Linked DNA regions of Homo sapiens: regions 1, 2, 3, 4, 6 and 7 are each linked to region 5. Evidence: promoter capture Hi-C in 16 types of primary human blood cells and fetal thymus (Javierre and others, 2016). All regions are on one chromosome and are shown on one strand. The core of a region is centred on a gene start or on the middle of the fragment in contact, and the rest is flanking DNA. Distances in the headings are between cores, read along the strand shown.

Evidence for each region. Contacts are between HindIII fragments. The CHiCAGO score rates a contact against its expected background, and 5 or more counts as called.
Region 1: a contact is called between a fragment that was not itself captured here and the fragment with the promoter of IPO8 in region 5, in 6 of 17 cell types (activated CD4 T cells, non-activated CD4 T cells, naive CD8 T cells and 3 more). The highest score is 12.6, in activated CD4 T cells.
Region 2: a contact is called between a fragment that was not itself captured here and the fragment with the promoter of IPO8 in region 5, in 1 of 17 cell types (activated CD4 T cells). The highest score is 7.2, in activated CD4 T cells.
Region 3: a fragment that was not itself captured here is called in contact with the fragment with the promoter of IPO8 in region 5 in 1 of 17 cell types (neutrophils); the score reaches 6.0 in neutrophils.
Region 4: a contact is called between a fragment that was not itself captured here and the fragment with the promoter of IPO8 in region 5, in 8 of 17 cell types (neutrophils, non-activated CD4 T cells, naive CD8 T cells and 5 more). The highest score is 12.4, in neutrophils.
Region 6: a contact is called between a fragment that was not itself captured here and the fragment with the promoter of IPO8 in region 5, in 1 of 17 cell types (total B cells). The highest score is 5.1, in total B cells.
Region 7: a fragment that was not itself captured here is called in contact with the fragment with the promoter of IPO8 in region 5 in 4 of 17 cell types (non-activated CD4 T cells, total B cells, activated CD4 T cells and 1 more); the score reaches 9.0 in non-activated CD4 T cells.

What each region holds. Positions count from the first base shown.
Region 1 is chr12:29,101,737-29,104,671 of GRCh38, reverse strand. No RefSeq gene overlaps it. Among named protein-coding and RNA genes, the nearest start is that of FAR2, 46 kb to the left of the region's middle. The HindIII fragment of the contact is 3,674 bases long and covers 1-2,935 here.
Region 2 is chr12:32,692,133-32,694,832 of GRCh38, reverse strand. The region is part of intron 1 of DNM1L (dynamin 1 like); the gene reads right to left. Among named protein-coding and RNA genes, the nearest start is that of DNM1L, 14 kb to the right of the region's middle. The HindIII fragment of the contact is 2,885 bases long and covers 1-2,700 here.
Region 3 is chr12:29,128,073-29,130,995 of GRCh38, reverse strand. No RefSeq gene overlaps it. Among named protein-coding and RNA genes, the nearest start is that of FAR2, 20 kb to the left of the region's middle. The HindIII fragment of the contact is 5,194 bases long and covers 1-2,923 here.
Region 4 is chr12:29,330,939-29,333,638 of GRCh38, reverse strand. It overlaps FAR2 (fatty acyl-CoA reductase 2), which reads right to left. Exons shown (of 12, transcript NM_001271783.2): 11 at 912-1,039; 12 at 1-7. Among named protein-coding and RNA genes, the nearest start is that of FAR2-AS1, 14 kb to the right of the region's middle. The HindIII fragment of the contact is 2,837 bases long and covers 1-2,700 here.
Region 5 is chr12:30,694,577-30,697,276 of GRCh38, reverse strand. It overlaps IPO8 (importin 8), which reads left to right and starts at 1,408. Exons shown (of 25, transcript NM_006390.4): 1 at 1,408-1,713. The coding sequence starts at 1,630. RefSeq lists an enhancer at 1,019-1,518 and a silencer at 1,609-1,658. The HindIII fragment of the contact is 4,530 bases long and covers 1-2,700 here.
Region 6 is chr12:29,303,190-29,306,067 of GRCh38, reverse strand. The region is part of intron 4 of FAR2 (fatty acyl-CoA reductase 2); the gene reads right to left. All of the region lies in intron 3 of FAR2-AS1 (FAR2 antisense RNA 1), which reads left to right. Among named protein-coding and RNA genes, the nearest start is that of FAR2-AS1, 13 kb to the left of the region's middle. The HindIII fragment of the contact is 2,428 bases long and covers 211-2,638 here.
Region 7 is chr12:32,671,991-32,674,690 of GRCh38, reverse strand. No RefSeq gene overlaps it. Among named protein-coding and RNA genes, the nearest start is that of DNM1L, 6.0 kb to the left of the region's middle. RefSeq lists an enhancer at 1-497. The HindIII fragment of the contact is 2,090 bases long and covers 396-2,485 here.

The DNA of each region.
Region 1 (2,935 bases), core at 109-2,608, 1.6 Mb after region 5:
AAGCCATGGGTGTGAAATAAAACATGGGCATTTTCAATTCACATTTTTCTTAAAAAGTCATGATGCAATTGAAGGTTTTTAGTAACACTGATTCACTGCCTCGATCAACATGTTTCCTAACTCCTGGTTCTATTTTGAGACTAGATGGAACATTAATACACTTAACACGATTCTTTTAGGATCTGTCCCACCTACAGCAAACTGTTCAGGAGCTGAAAACACAAAAGAACCTTGGTAATGTCTCAGGAATTGCAGACCTCAAACTAGGCTCAGGTGAGAAGTGGAGCCACTGCGCTTCCCTCTTTCTACTCCTTGGTTTTCTTGGTAGCAAACCAAAAGCACCTAAAGTGATACATGGTAATGGAGAACCATCCAAAGGTAGGGCTAATAACTCGATCATTCTCCTAGCTCTCAGCACTGGCCTTCTTTCTTCATCATCCAAGATCTATACATAGTTAAAAGTGAGTGAGGTCTATCCTGCCTTTGAAGAACCCATAGTCTAGTGGGAGATGCTGACATTAGTATTATTACTGTAATATAGTGTCATAAATAAAATTCTAGGGGATATTCTGCTAGTGCAGAGGGGAAAGCATCAACCAATGAAGTGTAGAGGGCAAGGGAATGTTTGGTAAGAGAAGGATTCTTGGAGACAAATAGGAAATGTTTCCCTGATGGAAAGAGGCTTTGGTGTAGTGTGGGGAAGAACCATGCATGCAGAAAACAATAGCTTGTGTGATTCAGAAACAAGGTAAAAGACTGTGGAGTGTGTGTGAGGAGGCACAAGATGTTCCCTATGGTGACAATGTAAATGTGGGAAGGGGGAACTGAGGGATGTGAAGCAGGGGCCTGCACAGAGAGGCTCTTGGATGCTGTGCTAAGGATCTTAGATCTTATTCTGTAGAACATGGAGAAGCCTCGAAATGTGTGAGGCAGGAAATGACATGAGTAGGTTTCATTTTCGATAAACCGCAGTGGTAGCTGTGCATGGGATAAACTTGAGAGGAACAACCCTGAAAGCAAGAAACCGGTTAGAAATTTGGAGATATTGGTGATAATCACTGAGTTTCAGTTTCAATTTCATAACACTCATAAGAAAATATTGCAATGAGACAGCGTAAGGCATGGGGTTTGAAGCCAGAGGGCCTGGGTTTGAATTTGCCTGTGTTACTCCAGGCAAATCATTAAAGTCCAAGACTCATGTGTAGAGTCTTCCTTCATGTGTAGAATGGGAATAAAAATAAAGCTGTCTTATCAGTTAGTATGAAAATTAACAAGATGATCAATGCAAATTGCATAGCACAGTGCTTGGTATTATATAGCCCTTGATAAATATTAACCACTATCATCACATAATAAACAGCAAAATAAAGAAATGTAGTAAGAAATATCAATGAAATTTCTGAAAAATATAACCACTCATTCCAATCTAATACTGTAAAAAAATGATCGTTTTTATTCCAGCAAGGACTCAGGAAAAAAACCTATCAAAATGAAAACAGCAAAGGGAACTTAGTTGTTTTCTGCAAAAGAAATCCTGCCCTTGTTGACATGTACCCTGGTTTCCAAAATGCAAAGTTGTATAGTTTTCATGACCTTGTGTTAAGTTACACATAGGGAAAATGCAAAGTAGGTATCATTATTTCTGCAGTGTGTTAACTGATGATAAAAAATATTTGATGTAGTCAGTAGCTACAGATCCTATCAGTACTTGAAAGGCTTCACTGCCCAGAGTTGATGAATAAAACCGCAGTTCTTTTTGGCTGGCTTCATAAGATCTCACAGTATCTTTCCTTGACTGGCTGATGACAATGGAATGAAGTACAGGTGTGAGTTTCATTGTATTCAACCTATTTTTAACGTATTTAGTAGTTTTCTTTTTCTATCATTTTGATGTATTTAAATTTTGTAATTTTATTTGTTTGTTTTATATTTAAAAATTGATTTATTTGCAAATGTTTCAAAATATGGGAGTTTAAAACAACATTTAAAAACCCCCTCCACTTTACTACTCTATATTCTTCTACCCAACCTAGTGGTCTGTCCTAACCTTGAAGATGAGACCTGAGCAATTATAGGCTTCTTGATAGAATCAATCCCTTAGTCATTCTAAAGATGACTACGATTACAGGGCAAATTTTACCAGGAAGCACTTCTATTATTATTATGAAGATAACAGTTCTCTTTATCTTTAGCTCATCTGCAGTCTATTTGTAAACTATGCATTTAGCCAAAAGCACATAAAAATTGTTTCAAGGGAAAATACTCATTTTTATAAGCTAGTAGACTAAAACGATTTAAATCCATAGAAGAAGTAGAAAATAACTAGTCAGAAAAGACTTTTTATTTTTTGTGGGGAATTTTTGGATATCACGACAAATATAGTAGAAAACACTATTTTTTTTAATGAAGTGCCAAACACCAAACTATAAAACTCCCAGCAGACAGCAGAAAAACAGGTAGATTAACTACGGTTTGGCCATGAATTCTTAGATACTGCATGAAAAACACAATCCATTAAAGAAGAAATTAGTATACTAGATTTTTTAAATTAAAAACTGCTTTACATAGATAATGTTAAGAGAATAAAGCAAGCCACAGACTGGGGGAAAACCTTTGAAAAATACACATCTAGAAGAACTGGTATTCAAAATATGCAAAGAATTCTTAAAACTCAAAGGTAAGAAAGCAAACAACCCAATTAAAAATAAGCAAAATATCTCAACAGACAATCAAAGAAGATATCAAATGGCAAATGAGAAAATGCTCAGTATCATATGTCAGTAGGGATTTAAATTAAAACAACAACGAGATGCCACTATATAACTATTAGAATGGCAGATATCCAAAATACTGACAACACTAAATTCTGCTAAGGATGTGGAGTAATAGGCACTTTCATTCATTGCTGGTAGAAGTGCAAAATGGTACAGCCACT
Region 2 (2,700 bases), core at 166-2,665, 2.0 Mb before region 5:
AATTCTCCGCTCCATCAGAAGTTCCACTGCTTCCTTCTGCTTCTTCCAGTATGGATAACAATGGTTTGTTCCCAATCTGCTGGTATTTGAGCGTTTGTAGAGAAACATAGTCAACTAATTTTCTTGTACACATTTTCTATGTGTTTTTGGTTTTCCTATCCTATTTGTTCTGTTTTAGGGGAAAGTCATATAGATATTTAGGAAACTATTCTACCACTGCTGTCATCTTCCCAGGATCCCTAATATGGATATTTAATCCACTAGAGGTATCAAGACTAATGTTTAGTCTTATAAAAGTTATTTTATACTTCAGTCATAAAAAGGAATAAGGTACCGATGCACGCTCCAACATGGATGAATCTAAAAACATTATTCTGCTAAGTTAAAGTTAGTCAGTCACAAAAGACCACATATTATTTGACCCTGTTTATATGAAATGTCCAAAATATGGCCGGGCGCGGTGGCTCACGCCTGTAATCCCAGCACTTTGGGAGGCCAAGGCAGGCGGATCACAAGGTCAGGAGTTCGAGACCAACCTGGCCAACATGGTGAAACCCCATCTCAACTAAAAATACAAAAATTACACGGGCAAGGTGGCACGCACCTGTAGTCCCAGCTACTCAGGATAGGCTGAGGCAGCAGAACTGCTTGAACCCAGGAGGCGGAGGTTGTAGTGAGCCAAGACTGTGCCACTGCACTCCAGCCTGGGCAACAGGGCGAGACTCCATCTCAAAAAAAGAGAAATGTCCAAAATAGGCAAATCTATAGCTAGAAAGTAGATTATGTGGCTGTTTAGGGACAGAGTGAAGAAGAATGGGGAGTGACTACTAATGGATACCAGGTTTCTTTCTAGAATGATGGTATATTCTAAAATTAGTTTAAAGGTGATGGAAAGGCCAGGCGAGGTGGCACATGCCTGTAACCCCAGCAATGTGGGAGGCCAAGGTAGGCAGATCACTTGAGGCCAAGGAGTTCAAGACCATCCTGGGCAACATGGTGAAACCTCATCTTTACAAAAAATAAAAAAATTAGCCAGGCAAGGTTGCACATGCCTGTAGTACCAGCTGCTCGGGAGGCTTAGACAGATGGATCACTTGAGCCCAGGGGATTGAGGCTGCAGTGAGCCATGGTCATGCCACTGCACTCCAGCCTGGGCAAGAGAGTGAGACCCTGTCTTAAAAAGAAAAGAAAAAAGAAAAGTTTAAGGTGATGGTTGTGCGACTCTATAAATATGCTAAAAAAAACACTGAATTACACATTGTAAATGGGTATGTTATGGTATAGAGTGTATCTCAGTAAAGCTGTTAAAAAACAAAATAAAGGAGAATGACTTCTTAAACAATATACAAAATGTACAAAACCACAGAAGAAAAGATAATTCAACCACAATAAAATTAAAACTTCTTTTCCTCACAGAAAAAATTCAGGGAAAACATTTGTGATCCATAAGTAACTGGTAACCAAAATGTATAAATAACTCCCACAAATCAAATTCTTAAAAATACCTAACAAAATAATGTGCAGAGATATCAACAAAAACTCACAAAACAAAACCTCAAAGAGCCAAGAAACATGATAAGATGCTCACACTCACTAGTAATCAGGAGGATGCAATAGAAACCACAATGAGGTACCATAAATTTAAAATGTGACTATAGAAAGTACAGATATAAATAAACTTCACTCTGTTGATGGGAATGTAAATTACAGCCATCCTGAGAAGCAATAGCAATATCCAATAAATATACCCTACAGTCTGGCAATTCCACTCCTTGATTCGTTAGAGAAATTCTCAAACATGAGACATTTATATGAATATCCGCAGTACCACTGTTTACAAAAACAGCTATAGCAAACACTGGGGAACACACAAATTTCAACAGGATATATTCCTATAATGGACCATTATATAGCAGTATAAGTGAACAAACTGGGATTATATGTGTGTATATAAATAAATTTCACATGACTGTGTAAAAACATATATACAGATTACAGCTACTTTGTGACTGATAGTGAGTGGAACTTCCACCTGATATATCCCTATTATACTATGAAAATGTACAAATACCTGAAATGTAAAAATGAGCCTAATGTTAAGATGGATAGGAAGGACACTGTGACTAGTTCTGTGTGGAGTTTGGTAGCACTGTGATTCATTTGATGCTTCTAGAAACCACAAAAAACTATACATTGGAGAAATTATGGACTCTGTGTTCTTATGATGACTAGTTAGTTCTGAAGCACCTGGACATTATCTGAAGACTTCATTCTTGGAATAGAAGATGACATTTCATCCCTGACTCCAGTGGAGTTCAAGTGTGAATAAAATGATATGAACTGCTTTTGTCATTTCAGAATTAGACTGAGTCACTTCTTGGAAAATATAGCTCCTAAACCCCAGTTTAGGTGCTGTTAAAATAAGTATCATCTACCTCACGGGTACTCATGGTGACTGACTCTTGGAGACTCTAGAATGCACCAAAACAAACAAACAAACAAACAAATTCCAGACATTCAAACTAAAACTTTTAACATGTTGTCGCTATTCCTGAGATCCCAGCAGGACTTCCTGGAGCCTGTGCTTAACTTGATCTCTCTGCTTAGATTTTAATTAATTTTGCTTAAATGTAAATCTTATTCTATAGAATGGAATGAGCAAAATTTTAAATAATTAAAATATATATCACCACCCAAAAA
Region 3 (2,923 bases), core at 216-2,715, 1.6 Mb after region 5:
TTGACTAAAGGCATATTCTCTCTATTGCCTATTATGCAGACCTTAAAATGAATTAATTATAACTTTGTCAGTTGGATTGCACTAATTTCCATGAGGTTTAGCTTGCGAAGAAAGTAACAATATGAAAGACATTTATAATATGACCTTGTTGCCTTTAAACCATTGTCAAAAAACTTTCAATATGTTTATATATAGAGAGAAATATAGGTCTATCCCAGCACTTTGGGAGGCCGAGACGGGTGGATCACGAGGTCAGGAGATCGAGACCATCCTGGCTAACACGGTGAAACCCCATCTCTACTAAAAATACAAAAAAATTAGCCGGGCTTGGTGGTGGGCGCCTGTAGTCCCAGCTACTTGGGAGGCTGAGGCAGGAGAATGGCGTGAACTTGGGAGGTGGAGCTTGCAGTGAGCCGAGATCGCGCCACTGCCCTCCAGCCTGGGCGACAGAGCGAGACTCCGTCTGAAAAAAAAAAAAAAAAAAAGAAATATAGGTCTATAAAAGCATACAGAAAATCAGAAGGATACATACTTGATTATTAACATTATTTTGGTTGTTGGAAAAGAGGCACTAATGCATGGGGGTGGGGGAGTGAGAGAGGACTACCAGGCAAGGAAGAACAAAGAAAAAGACTGAAACACAATTCGAGGTATCATCTAGTTGTATTTATGCACATATGCAAAATTATATTTAAAAATTTTAATTAAAAAGTATGTTGGGAGGCACCACTTCATCCTAACCAGTATATAGCTGAACAAACTGAAAAATCAATCACTTTTCTTAGATATGTCAGAGAAGTGAGGTCACAGGGCAAACTGCTACCCTCAAAATTGGAGAGACAGATGGGCAGATAAGAGAATCACAACTTACCAGAGCAGAAACCTGTGTGGGAACCAGTGTCAGGGTAGGAAAACCTAAACCATAAATGATGAATTGCTGGAGGCTTGGTATTGACAAGTGTAAGAGCTAAAAGCTCCAGGGAGAAGACACCCCCAGAAACACAATTTTGTGAGTTCTACCTTAAGGACCTCTTTTCATATCCTCCTAGTAAATATTAAGGAAAAAATCCTCTCTTACTTAAAGCGCTGAAAGAAAAGACACACCAACTTCACATCCTGTGCCCTGTGATATAATCCTTCTAAAAAAGAAGGAAAAACGAAGACTTTCTCAGACAAATAAAAAAATGAGGGATTTGTTGCCAGTAGAACTGCCTTGAGGGGAATGTTAAAAGAAGTTCTTCAGAGAGAAGGAAAATGATATGGATCAGAAACTCACATCCACATGAAGAAAGGAAGAGCATCGGTGAATGAATAAGTGAAAATAAAACAAAACCTTTCATTTTCCTAGTCTTAACTGATCTAACAGATAACAATTTGTTTAAAATAATAGCAATCATGTATTCAATTTATATGCATATATATGCTTGCGTGTGCTTCTGTATACATGAAACAAATGACAGCAAAGATATAAGGGATGGGAGAGAGGAATTGAGAATATTTTGTTATTATAAGGTACTTACACTACCTGTGAAATAGTATAGTGATATTTGAAAGTGGATTTGGATTAGTTGTAAGCATATGTTGTAGACTCTAGGGCAATCACCAAAAAAAGTTAAAAAGGGAATATAAAGATAGGAAAAAACCTAGTGCATTTTCTGTGTTCACACACTGAGCACAAACCTTCTAATACCAGATGTGAGGGGGATATTCCCCATACACCAAGCAACTCTCCAGCAGACACCAACTGGGTGTCCTATAATTCAATTAAATTCTGACATGATCTCCCTGGAGTTAGAGTCATAGCCCATAAAGTTTCTGTGCCGCATACTGCCTCCCACTCCTAGATGCTAACAGTAGGTTGTCACCTCTACTTCTCACTGACTGGCTATAAATTGGGAGTTCCCAGGACACCCTCCTCTGGTTCAATTAATTTGTTAGGGAAGCTCATAGAACTAGGGGAAACACTTTCACTTTATTTATGTTTACTGGTTTTACTAATAAAGGATTTAATCAAGGACACAGATGAACAGCCAGATGAAGGGATGCATAGCGAGAGATCTGGAAGGGCCCCAATGCAGGAGGGAGCTCCTGTCTCCATGCAGTTGGGATGCATCACCCTCCAGCTCATAGATGTGTTTGACAACCCAGAAGCTCTCTGAACCTCATAGTTCAGGGATTTTTATAGGGGTTTTATCATGTAGGCATGATTGATTTTTAATTCCATGTCTGGCCTCTCTCTCCTTTCTGGGGTATGGAGAATGAAGCTGAAAGCTCTAAGCTAATCATGGTTTGGTCTTCCTAGTGACCAGCACCCATCCAGGAGCACACCAAGAGTTACCTCATTAAAACAAAAGATGCTCCTGTCACCCAAGAATTTCAAAAGAATTTAGGAGCTCTGTGTCCTATGCTTCGATTACTCAGGATATTATAGAAGTTTTAGGAGCTTTATGTCAGGAAACAAGATCAAATACCAAATATTAGAACAAAAAATTATCCTAGCACCCCTACGTACATATTAGAAACTCTATCTCAGGAATTGGGCAGAGACCAAACATTAGAAAAAAAAATTATCCTAGCATCTCTATTGCTCAGGAAATTACAAGGGTTTTTGGAGCTCTGTGCCAGGGACAGTAAACAGACCAATATATACATTTATTATTTCACAGGAGGTATAATTGATATACTAATAAGGGAGAGAAAATAGAATCATATAAAATGCTCGATTAAAACCAAAAAAGGCAGAAAAAGTATAGAAGACAAAAATAGGAACAAAGCACAAGGGTAACAAGTATAAAACAGTAACAAATATGATATATCAATATGCAGCTATATTAATAATAATCTTAAACATCAATGGTCTAAAAGTATCAATTAAAAGAGATTACCAGAGCAGATCAAACAAAAACCCAAATATATGTTGTAT
Region 4 (2,700 bases), core at 71-2,570, 1.4 Mb after region 5:
TCGGAGCCTAGGGAACAGACAGACATAACCAAAGTTAAAACTACCAGATACCCAACCACATTATCTGAAGATAAATATGTGTTTTCCTGGATATGACTGGCAAGTATTTATGAAGTGCTCAGAGTATTTGATATAACTTGGCCAATTGGTTTCTGCGTCTTTCATTTCCACAGCATTCTTGCTGAATAGTCAGATTTCTACCATATTTCCCTAATTTCTCTTATACCTCTCTCCACTTGAAACTATTTACAAGCATGACTAGCATAATCTTGTAAATATACTTTGGTCATGTTACCACATCATAAATCTTCACTGGTTCTTGTTCATTAGAAGGTAAATTCTAAAGTTCTTGGCTTGCTATTCAAGGTTCCTCCTTCCTGTTTTGCAAGCTACTTTTTTATCCTTATCATCTCTGCACTACAGATCCTCTGCTTCTACCAGGATTATACCAGAGTGCTAGAATTCCTTGTCCCTCAGGGATTACGACTGAAAGAAATTTAAGAAAGTTGAAAAAATTGAGGAGTGACTTTTTTCTAGGTTAAATAGCATAATCAGGTCTCCTGCCTGTTGGGTATTTATATCCCATTATGACAGAGTGTGGTAGAAGAAACAAATTTGGGTTCAAATCTGGCTCTTAGACTTACTATGCAATTACCATGGGCAAGTTATTTGCTGTGTTTAAATCTAGATATCTGCCTCATAAAAATGGGGTAACAAAAGTAATACTTGCCTCATAGAGGTGTGGTGAAGTCTAAATGAAACTGTGTTACAGGGTAGAGTATGGAGTGCAGGACCTGTAATGTAGTAAATGCTCAAGAAATGTTCATTCTCCTCTGCACAAATGTTATGTCTGGTATAAAGTCGATGCACAGTAGGTGCTCAATAAATATTAACTGACTGATTATACTTACCTTTTTAAGCGTTGCTTTGCTTTTGGGATCCCAGCCATATCCTCTTTCAATAAGTATTTTTTAACTCCCAAAACATAATTTTCAATGTATTCCAACCAGTTCAACTGGCGCACGTCAAAGTTGAATACCTGAGAGGCAAGAGAGATTATAGATTGCCAGAATTGCAGTGCTGGACAGTCACTTTGTCCACTTGAGGTTTCTTCTACATAGACGAGTGACCTTCAATTTGGGAGACATAGGTTGGACCCTCTCCAAAGGAGAGATTATTTGAGTCATTATTTCAAAGGTACTGATAATATGGATTACTATTTACATAGGAATATTTAAACATGGATCAAACACAAACACTTCACATTTCTTGTGAGGGAGATTTAAAGGAAATAGTATTACATAGTCTGGTGAAAACTTATGGTTGGCTTGGTATATATTTCAGCTAACCGAGGAGTAATTATTTTTAAAAGTGATAGAATAATATGTTAGTGACCAAAACATAAATGATGCAACTTTCCCTTTCCTCTTAAATTTTGGTGTTATCCCTTTGTTCTACCATCCTTTCCTACAGCATTACCATTTCATTATGCAGATTAAACTTTGGGAAGCAAAGCCTTAAGGAATAAGTTACCAGAATTTATATTTAAGAAGAGAGTGATTGGTAGTGAAAGAAAAAAGGAGTGATCACAACATGGGGGAGGAGTAGGGAAGAAGGAGAAGGAAGAGATTGATCTGTTTAGGGAGAGAAGTTGTGCCACATAGAAGACAGATACAGAGAGTGACAATAAAGAAAAATGATTAAAAAATTTTTAAGGTATCTTTGAGGAAGAGAAAAGAAAAACACTTGCATAACCAAAAATGTATTCTTTTTTTGGTTTGTTATGGAAAAGCTGGAGTAAAGATTTGAATTGCATTCCATAGATTTTATTTTTTGTGTACTTTGAAAATGATGCTGAGCTGACACAGGATCAGGAGGTGGCCCAGATTTATATGGATTACAAATGGAGATAGGATGAGTTAGGAAGAGAAACCTGATAGGTCATTCTTGAGCCATCCAGGGATCTTTTCAAAATCTCCATATAAAGGGCCTAATTGGAGAAAGAAAGGGAGGGAAATGATCTTCAAATATATTAGAAAAAATAGTTTTGATTGAATATAAAGAACTTAGGGCACTAAAACTTGTTAGTAGAAAGAGTGTCAAGAAGATTCTGGTATCATCTCTGGAAATATTTCAAGTATTAGGTATTCTTGGAGAGTTTGGTATGACCCTGTTATCAAATAAAAGATTGCATCAGTGAGTGGATTTGGTTCAATAGAGTTTTATTTCATGTATTTGGAGAGAATGGCCTGGAAAATGGACTTGTGCTAGCATTTAAAAAGTCTAATATTTATAAATCTTAGCAAGTGGAGGGTGTGTTTAAGGTGCTTTTGTCCTTCCAATTGGGCACTCTTCTCTCTCCTTGGACATACAGCACTCTCAGATCACTTTTTGTCTATTCATCCCTGGACATTAAAAAAAAAAAAAAGCCTATCTTTAGTGGAGAGTTTCACGTACAGTGAAAGAAAGTTGCTCGTTACTCTTAACTTACTTAACTTCTGGTGAGGCCTCACTAGGAAGGACTTTAATAGCTAAAATGGCTTAATTCAAATAAATGATATTCCTAGAACAACAAGAATGATGTTCCTTTGAATGGCACAAAGTAGACATTCAATAAATACTTGCTATTAATGAATTATAGAATTTAGGTCAAATTAATTTAAATATTAATTTTGAACACCAAAAGTGTTTCTTTTTTGT
Region 5 (2,700 bases), core at 159-2,658:
TTTCTGTGACCTTTGTCTTTCTGAAATGGGAGAGGTTCCCTTGTCCCCCTCACAGGGCGTGCATTGGGGGTGTGGCTCGCTTCTTCAGTGCCCCGCTGCTCAGACCTCTAGAGAAGCATACAGACCGGCAGGCTGTGGGGCTCCGACCCCTTGACAGAGTCTGGGGGTGAATGTTTACAGCTCCTGAAGCCCCAGTGGGTGTGTGTTACAGGATGCTCTTTCAGTTTGCCTTTAGGGGGCTTGTGTTAACCAGCTCAATTAGACCCTCTACCTTGTCGCACAGACAGCGAGCTTTCTGTATCCTGGGTTCTTGCCTTGGTGTACCAGAAGAATTGGATCACACGTGGGCTTGGAGAATGAGTGCAAAGTTTTATTGAGTGGAAGTAGCCCTCAGCAGATGAGGGACCCAGAAGGGAAATGGTTTTCCTCTGGAGTTAGGCCGCTTGGCGGCCCGGGCTCTTTTCCGACTGCCCAGGCCAACCTCCGCATCGTTCTGCCCGTGAATGGCCTGCGGATGTGCCAGCGAGCTCCTCTTCTTCCACCCTTATGCTCCTCTGGACGTCTGGCTGCCTGTGTACCTGCCTGCTAGGGTCTGGGGTTTTCATAGGCACAGTATGGGGGAGTGGCAGGCCAGGGTGGTCTTGGGAAATGCAACATTTGGGCTGGAAGGCAGGAGTGTCAGTCCTCACCTAGGTCGGTGGGCGTGGAGCCCTAGCAAGGGACCACACACTCCTCTACCCAGCACTTCACTTCGCCCATCCCTATCATTTAAAGGGACCACGCTCTTCCCTTCCCAGCACTCCCCTATCATTTCTACACTGTAAATTTTTTTTGTTTATATTTGTCTCATCTATCAGGTTGTGAATTCCTTCACATTAACTTGCATGGAATTCATCTTGTTATAATGTGGTACCTAAAAATCCTAGTACTCTGGTTCAAAAATATATGTTTAACAAATGTTCAGTGAAAGCGAATGAATGAATGAACGATGACTCCCACACACGGAGGAACCCTGTCCTCCTGTAAGGTACATGATTTGAAGGTCCCAACAAGTCTATCTTGGAACAGGCCCAGTTGCGATGCCCATACAGTTCTCGGACTAACAAAAAGTGTCACACCATCCAGATATGCTTAATTTGGAAGCAGCTGTAAGCAGACTCCCGGCCAGCTCAAGTTTCCTCACCTGGGAAGAGGCGGGAGGCTGTTTACCGTACGGAAGCATAGCGGCCGCCTGCCTGAGTTCGGGAGCGCGGGTTCCTTTCCGGGAAAGAAGCCTAGGCCGTTTTCCGTACAGCAGCATGGCGGCCGCCGACGGGAGGCGGTCATAGCATCACGCCCGGGGGAAGAGGCCGCCGTAAAGGAAGCTCTGCTTCCTCTTCTTCCTTCTCCCGCCTCCCACCGGCTGTCGTAAAACGGTGAATGGAGAGCGAGTTGTGGGGGGGAAAAAGGGAGGACAGGGGGCGCGGAGTCAGAGTGGCGCAGCAAGTGGCCGCAGGTGGCGACGGTGGCGGGGGGTGGGGTGTGAGGTAATCCAGGGGTCGCGGAAGAGGAGGCTGAGAGGGTCAAAAGAAAACTAAAGCTGCAGTCCGGCCTACTGTTCCGGGGGCCGCGGAGCCCCCACCCGGGGAGATGGACCTCAACCGGATCATCCAGGCGCTGAAGGGCACCATCGACCCGAAGTTGCGGATTGCAGCCGAGAACGAGCTCAACCAGGTGAGGAGAGGGTCTTCGGCGACCCTCTTCCGCCGAAGGGGCGCCCCTGCCGGCTGGCCGGGCTCCCTCTCCCCGGCGCCCCTCGTCCTCACCCCCACCGGGCTGGGGCTGACGCCTCACGGCTGGTCCCGCTCTCCGACCCCGCTGCCCCCCGGTCCAGTGGAGCAGGGCTCCCAGGATCTTTGCCGAACAGCTCGCGCACCTGTTGGCCACCTTTGCACCTTTTCGTGTCGTCTCCCTTCTCCAGGGCAGTTTGTTCTGCCTACTTGGTCCGCAAGAAGCAGTTTTTGCAACCTGTGCTAGTGTTTTCAGGGTGTGATTTATTTTCCTTAAGTGCGCGGACTTGGGGAGCAGGTGGGAATTTTACTTACAGTTCAAATCTGAGTTCAGCTTTTTTCCAAACCCAGCCCTTTTTAGGTGTTGCTGTGGAGCACGCTGCCCACCGCCTCCTCCTGTCGGGTTGGCAGGACTGTTTTGACACCGATTGGCCGAGTTTTGCGGAGCGCTGGGCAGTGCTGTTGGGAGAGTGCTCTGGGAAGAATAGGCAGTTTTCATGGTGATACTGCTTTATCTAAGACACATCAAAGTAAGATGTGTTGGAGAAATTTCTTATGAATGCTAAAATGTGTAAGACTTCTTTCTTTTCTCCGTCTCCTGTTCTTCCTAATTAGCCTTGACGTCTTTCCAGCGTTACCCCCACACTTCAAAATTTTAATGATCCCAAACTCCAGCTTATTTCTTCTTCCCTACCGGTACTTAAGAATCACAGACCTCTTACTAAAAAGTAGGGATTAAGAGCTACCACTGGGATGGAGCAACAGCTGTTTTAGGTTGTGATGACTTGTAAAATGTAAATATTCCAAAATCAGCTGTTCTCAAAGCGTTGCCCAGGACCTGGAGCTTCAGCATCACCTGAGAACTTACAAATTATGCAAATTACGGGGCTTCAGTCCAGACTTAACGAATCAGAAACTGTGGGGGTGGGAC
Region 6 (2,878 bases), core at 175-2,674, 1.4 Mb after region 5:
CACCTGCAAAAATATATAGTTTATGAAAACCAGGTCTTGAGGGAATAAAGCTTAATTTCAATAAAGCTGTAAAAAAAAAAAAACCTAGGAAACATCAGAGCCCAATAATGTGCAGGGATTGTATGTCACATGGCTAGTACCAGTTGCTGTCATTAATGTTGGGGTACATGGAAAGGATAATATTTGGGGGGATAGGGGCCTTATAAAGCTTGGTGAGTTTGCTTGTCTTAGAAAATTTTGGTTTCGTAGATTTCTGACAGCACGCATGCAAGAAATTTTAATATTCTATAGATGACTTGCCTCTGCTACTCTCAGCTACACCTGTATTCCACTGTTTTATCTTTTCATTCCAATTGTACTTGTGAAAATGGCAATAATTATACTGATTCTAAATTCTCATAAGAGTAAACAGGAATATAAATTACCTAGTTCCAATTGTACTTGTGAAAATGGCAATAATTATACTCATTCTAAATTATCATAAGGGTAAACAGGAATATTCACAACTGCATTTAAGCTCTTTGATAAAACAAAATGAGCCAATAAACCTAAGGCATTGTTATTTTTTAATAAAACAACCAGTGAGCATGCATCTTTGTAGGTAATAGTTAGTTTTAAAGTGTCATTTCTGGCCAAGTGCGGTGACTCAAACCTGTAATCTCAGCACTTTGGGAGGCTGAGGAAGGAGGATCGTTTGAGTCCAGGAGTTTGAGACCAGCCTGGGCAACATAATAACACCCTGCCTCTACAAAAAAAATGTAAAAAAATTAATGGGGCATGGTGGTGTGCACCTGCAGTTCCAGCTACTCAGGAGGCTGAGGCAGGAGGATTGCTTGAGCTTGGGAGTTGGAGGCTCCAATGAGCCATAATTGTGCCACCATACTCCAGCTTGGGTGACAGAGACCCTGTCTCAAAAAAATAAAATAAATAAAAATAAAAATAAACAAATAAAACAAATAAAAATAAAATATCACTTATAATACAGCCAAACAGACCATCTGAAGCTCATCCAGCCACTTCCTAGGTTCAGAGGAGATTAGTGTAATAAACATGCACATCCACTGGTTGGGCCAAGCCATTCTTAGGACTTAAACACTCAATTCAGGGTTGCTGCTGCTGTTTGTTCTCAATTTGTTTTTAAAACAGTAAATAAGTTAGCATAGATAAAAAACACATATAAACCAAAATACATGTCTGAAATTAATCTAAATGTCCTCCAGTATACTCAAGAAGATGTTTTGAACCCATGGGTCTCAAATTCTAAACTTGAATTGCTTCAGAAGAAGCATAAAGTCATTGAAAATTTCAGAAAGCAGTATGTATATGTCTATGTGTGTTCACATATACACACATACACAATTTCTTCTAAATATTATCAATTTTGGTTTCAAACTTATTGAATCAACATGATTATATCATTAATGGTTTATTTATGTATTTACTGAATGAATTACCAAGAGGCATATGTATTTCCCCTCCCCTGATACCCTCAATTTTCTTATGCAACAAGTGGGCAAGCCTAGTAGTTTATCAGGAAATCTGTTAGAGAGTAAGTAGTGGACACACTGTCTTATGATAATGTTTGCTCTCTCTTTCTCCAGGGTAGATTATGTCATTCTCTTGATTGTTGTAGTTATCAAGTTGTATTTGCTTATGTGTCTGTCTCCCCACTGGACAGACAGTGAGTCCAGAAGATCAGGGATTATGATTTTTATCACTGTGTCTAATCACCTTTCTGCCCCCAGGAGCCAGCTGCCTTATTCAGTAAATGCATGTTCTTCCACATGATAATCTTGATTGGCCAATTTCTATACTATGTAAGGTTTTGGGAAGCAGAGATGGACAATGATGAGAGAAAGTGGATGAACTCAAAAGAAGACGAGGTTGTAGGGAGAATGTGGGAAAGGAAGGAAGGGGTTATCTTTTAGAGCAGGAAGCAAAATTGGAAGTAAAGTGTCCAGTGGCAATGGTGAAAAGTGTTGACCAACCTCGTTTTGGTGAAGGTGGCTTCAAGGTCAACTTAAACTTTCCAGTGGGAAGCAGGGTATTTCTGAGCCTAATGCTTATGGAGAATTGGCCTCTGTATTTCCCTCAAGACTTTTACGGAGCACCTAGCCAGGCTCAAACATGAGCCAGATGCTGAATACCCTGCCAATGGCCTGCCATTTGAAAATTACTCAGTTTGGTTAAGAAACAATTTAATCTTATTCTGGTTTGTAATTTAAAGCCTGCTAATATCAAAGTACACAGAATTCTCATTTTTACTTAGCTACATAGATGTCATTTTGAAGCTGTGCCATCCTGAAATTAAAAGCACAAGTGCTAGAATCAGCTTTCACCGTTCCCCTAGAAGAGGTCAGCTTTTTTAGTGTTAACAATGTGTTCTATAGCACGAAGGCAAAAAAGACTACTTTCTAACATCTGACCTCCTTTCATATCTCCCAGAGGACTGTGATAAGGGCCACTGCTGCTGGCTGTGGGGGCCTCCATTCCCCTGCCTCTCACACCTGCACCCTCAGTGCACACGCCACCTTTCCTTTTTCACATGGCAGCTTAGCTGTGTCTTCTGGTGACTGTGTAGCCTCAGAAGCATGGTTTTTAGTAGGTACAGATCTACTAGGAACTTTCCATTAAAGCTTCTAAGAACTGAAAGACAACAGGAGGCAAGGAGAGCAGGAGAAAGAGGGAGCATAGAGATAAAGAAGATAAATGATCCTCATTTCAAATGAAGACTGCTCAGTGAAAAACCTCCTTAAGGTAGTCTTTCCCAAACTTGCCTGCTCATAAATATGAATTACACAGGGCCCCTGGGAAAAATCCAGATTCCTGGGTACCATTTTAGAATCACTAAATACATCTGCAGAGTTAAGAGTCTGAT
Region 7 (2,700 bases), core at 191-2,690, 2.0 Mb before region 5:
GCGTGGTGGCGGGTACCTGTAGTCCCAGCTACCCGGGAGGCCGAGGCAGGAGAATGGCGTGAACCTGGGAGGCAGAGCTTGCAGTGAGCCAAGATCACGCCACTGCACTCCAGCCTGGGCAACACAGTGAGACTCCATGTCAAAAAAAAAAAAAAAGTATTGTTTTACAGTTCTATAGTTCAGTAGTCTCACACAGGTCTCACTGGACTAAAATCAAGGTGTCACCAGGGCTGCAAACCCTCCTAAAGCCTCTAGCAGGGAATTCACCTCCTTGCCTTTGTTAGGGGCCCCCTGCATTCCTTGCTGGTTACCTCCTTCCAACCTCTTCAAAGCCAGCAATGTCGCATCTCTTTAACTCTTCTGCTGTCATCAGGCCTCTGACCCCCAGAAAAGCTTCTCTGTGTTTAAGGGCCCATCATTAGATTGGCCAACCTGGACAACCCAGGATAATATCCCTGTCTCAAGGCCTGTACCCTTAATCACATCTACAGAGTCTCTCCTGAGACATAAAGTTCACAGGCTCCAGGGATTAGGACATGGACTTATTGGAGGGGCCTACTGCACCTGGTTAAGGTGATTGGTCTAGGGATGGACCTGCAGGACCATTTAGAATCCTTCTCTGAGAATTTCCTAACCTGAATTTGAACAAAAATATTTTCTCTCTCTGGTTATAGAACTGTAAGCATGTGAGTCAATGTCTCCAAAGATCATGTTTCCTATCTCATGGAATAAATTGGTTTGCAAGAATAAACTTCTTTATTCACCTTGAAGAACTTCCCCAAATTCAGTAACTTACCCATATATATACATATATATATATATTTTTTTTTTTTTTTGAGACAGAGTCTTGCTCTATCACCCAGGCTGGAGTGCAGTGGTGCAATCTCAGCTCACTGCAAGCTCCGCCTCCTGGGTTCACGCCATTCTCCTACCTCAGCCTCCCGAATAACTGGGACTACAGGCGCCCACCGCCACACCCGGCTAATTTTTTGTATTTTTAGTAGCGATGGGGTTTCACCATGTTAGCCAGGATGGTCTTGATCTCCTGACCTCGTGATCTGCCCGCCTCAGCCTCCCAAAGTGCTGGGATTACAGGCATGAGCCACTGCGCCTGGCCAACTTTCCCATATTTTTAAATGTACATGTGCTGTACAGCACATAACATCAGAATTCTAATCCCCATAGTTAACCATATGAATTTCTCCATTTTTCCTTGTTGCCCTTTTCACACAATATTATTGAACTATTATTTAAGTGCTTATTGTATGTGAGGCACTATACTAAGCATTTTATCAGAGCCTCGTGAAGTAGGTTTAGAGATGTAGAAACGGAGGCTCCAGGGATTGAAGTGAAGTGGTAAATTTACACAGCTAGTATGTGGCAGAGATGGGATGAAAAGGGGCTTTTTGGCAAACCCCCTTTTTTTTCTTTTTTTTGAAACAGTCTTACTCTGTCGCCACAGTGGTGCGATCTCAACTCACTGCAACCTCTGCCTCCCAGGTTCAAGCAATTCTCCTGTCTCAGCCTCCCCAGTAGCTGGAACTACAAGCGCACACCGCCTCGCCAGGCTAATTTTTGTATTTTTAGTAGAGACTGGGTTTCACCATATTGGTCAGGCTGGTCTTAAACTCCTGACCTCAGGTGATCCACCCGCCTCGGACTCCCAAAGTGCTGGGATTACAGGTGTGAGCCACCATGCCCGGCAGCAAACTCTCAACCGCTACACATTCTGCCTCGTGTATTTATTCCTTTCTTCATTAATTCAACACATATTGATGAAGTACTTGTTAGGCATACGGATCTTAGCCAGGCAGTATATTTTGCTGGAGAGTAGGGAGGAACCGTGGATATGGCACTAACATGCCCTCCCCCTTCACCAATAGTGAGCTCACGAAGGGCAGAAGTGATTATCTTATTTAGCTGGGTTCCCCCACTACCTCGTATGAAGCGTGTTACATAATATTAGTCTACTGGATATGGGGTTTTCTTTTCTTTTTTATTTGGAAAATCTGGAATAACAAGGATTTAAGCAGCTCTGAATTGATATAATTGCAACCAGGACTGGCAATCAAATCTCACCAACACATATGAGTCTGGCTTGGCATAGGACTCCTCATTAGAATAGATGCCAAGTTACTTAGCTAGGGAGTAGCCTGGCTTTGTTCTAACTTAAAATCCCGAATTAGAGGAAGTTTATTTTGGATTAAATTAATAACTGGAAATTAATCGATCTTGGAAAAGGTCAGACTGTTTTTATCGCATGTGTCCAATATCATTTTATGCCAACATTTTGATCATCAATCACAGCCAAGATGCCGGTATCTGCACCTTCAAATCATAGCGGTTAGTGGGGATCTAATGTTAATATAAAATATACAGCTCTGTTGGGGAAGCCTCTTTGTCATATTTTGGAAACTGCCCGTGTTTTGCAAAGATGATAAAGTAAACAGCTTTAATCAATTTGCTACTCCCCAGGCCTCAAGCTTAACACATACTTTGTTAGCAGGTGCAGGAAATTGTTTGCAGATGGTGGAATTGGCCAGATGGTTCAGAAGCCAGAAATTGAATCTGGTGAGATACTGACGGGACCATGAGAGGGCAGTGTGACAACACAATTAAGAGCAGTTAACGACAAAATAACTTGGGAGTTAAGATATGGTCCTGATTTCTTCCCTTTGCTCCACACCCACACCCCAATAG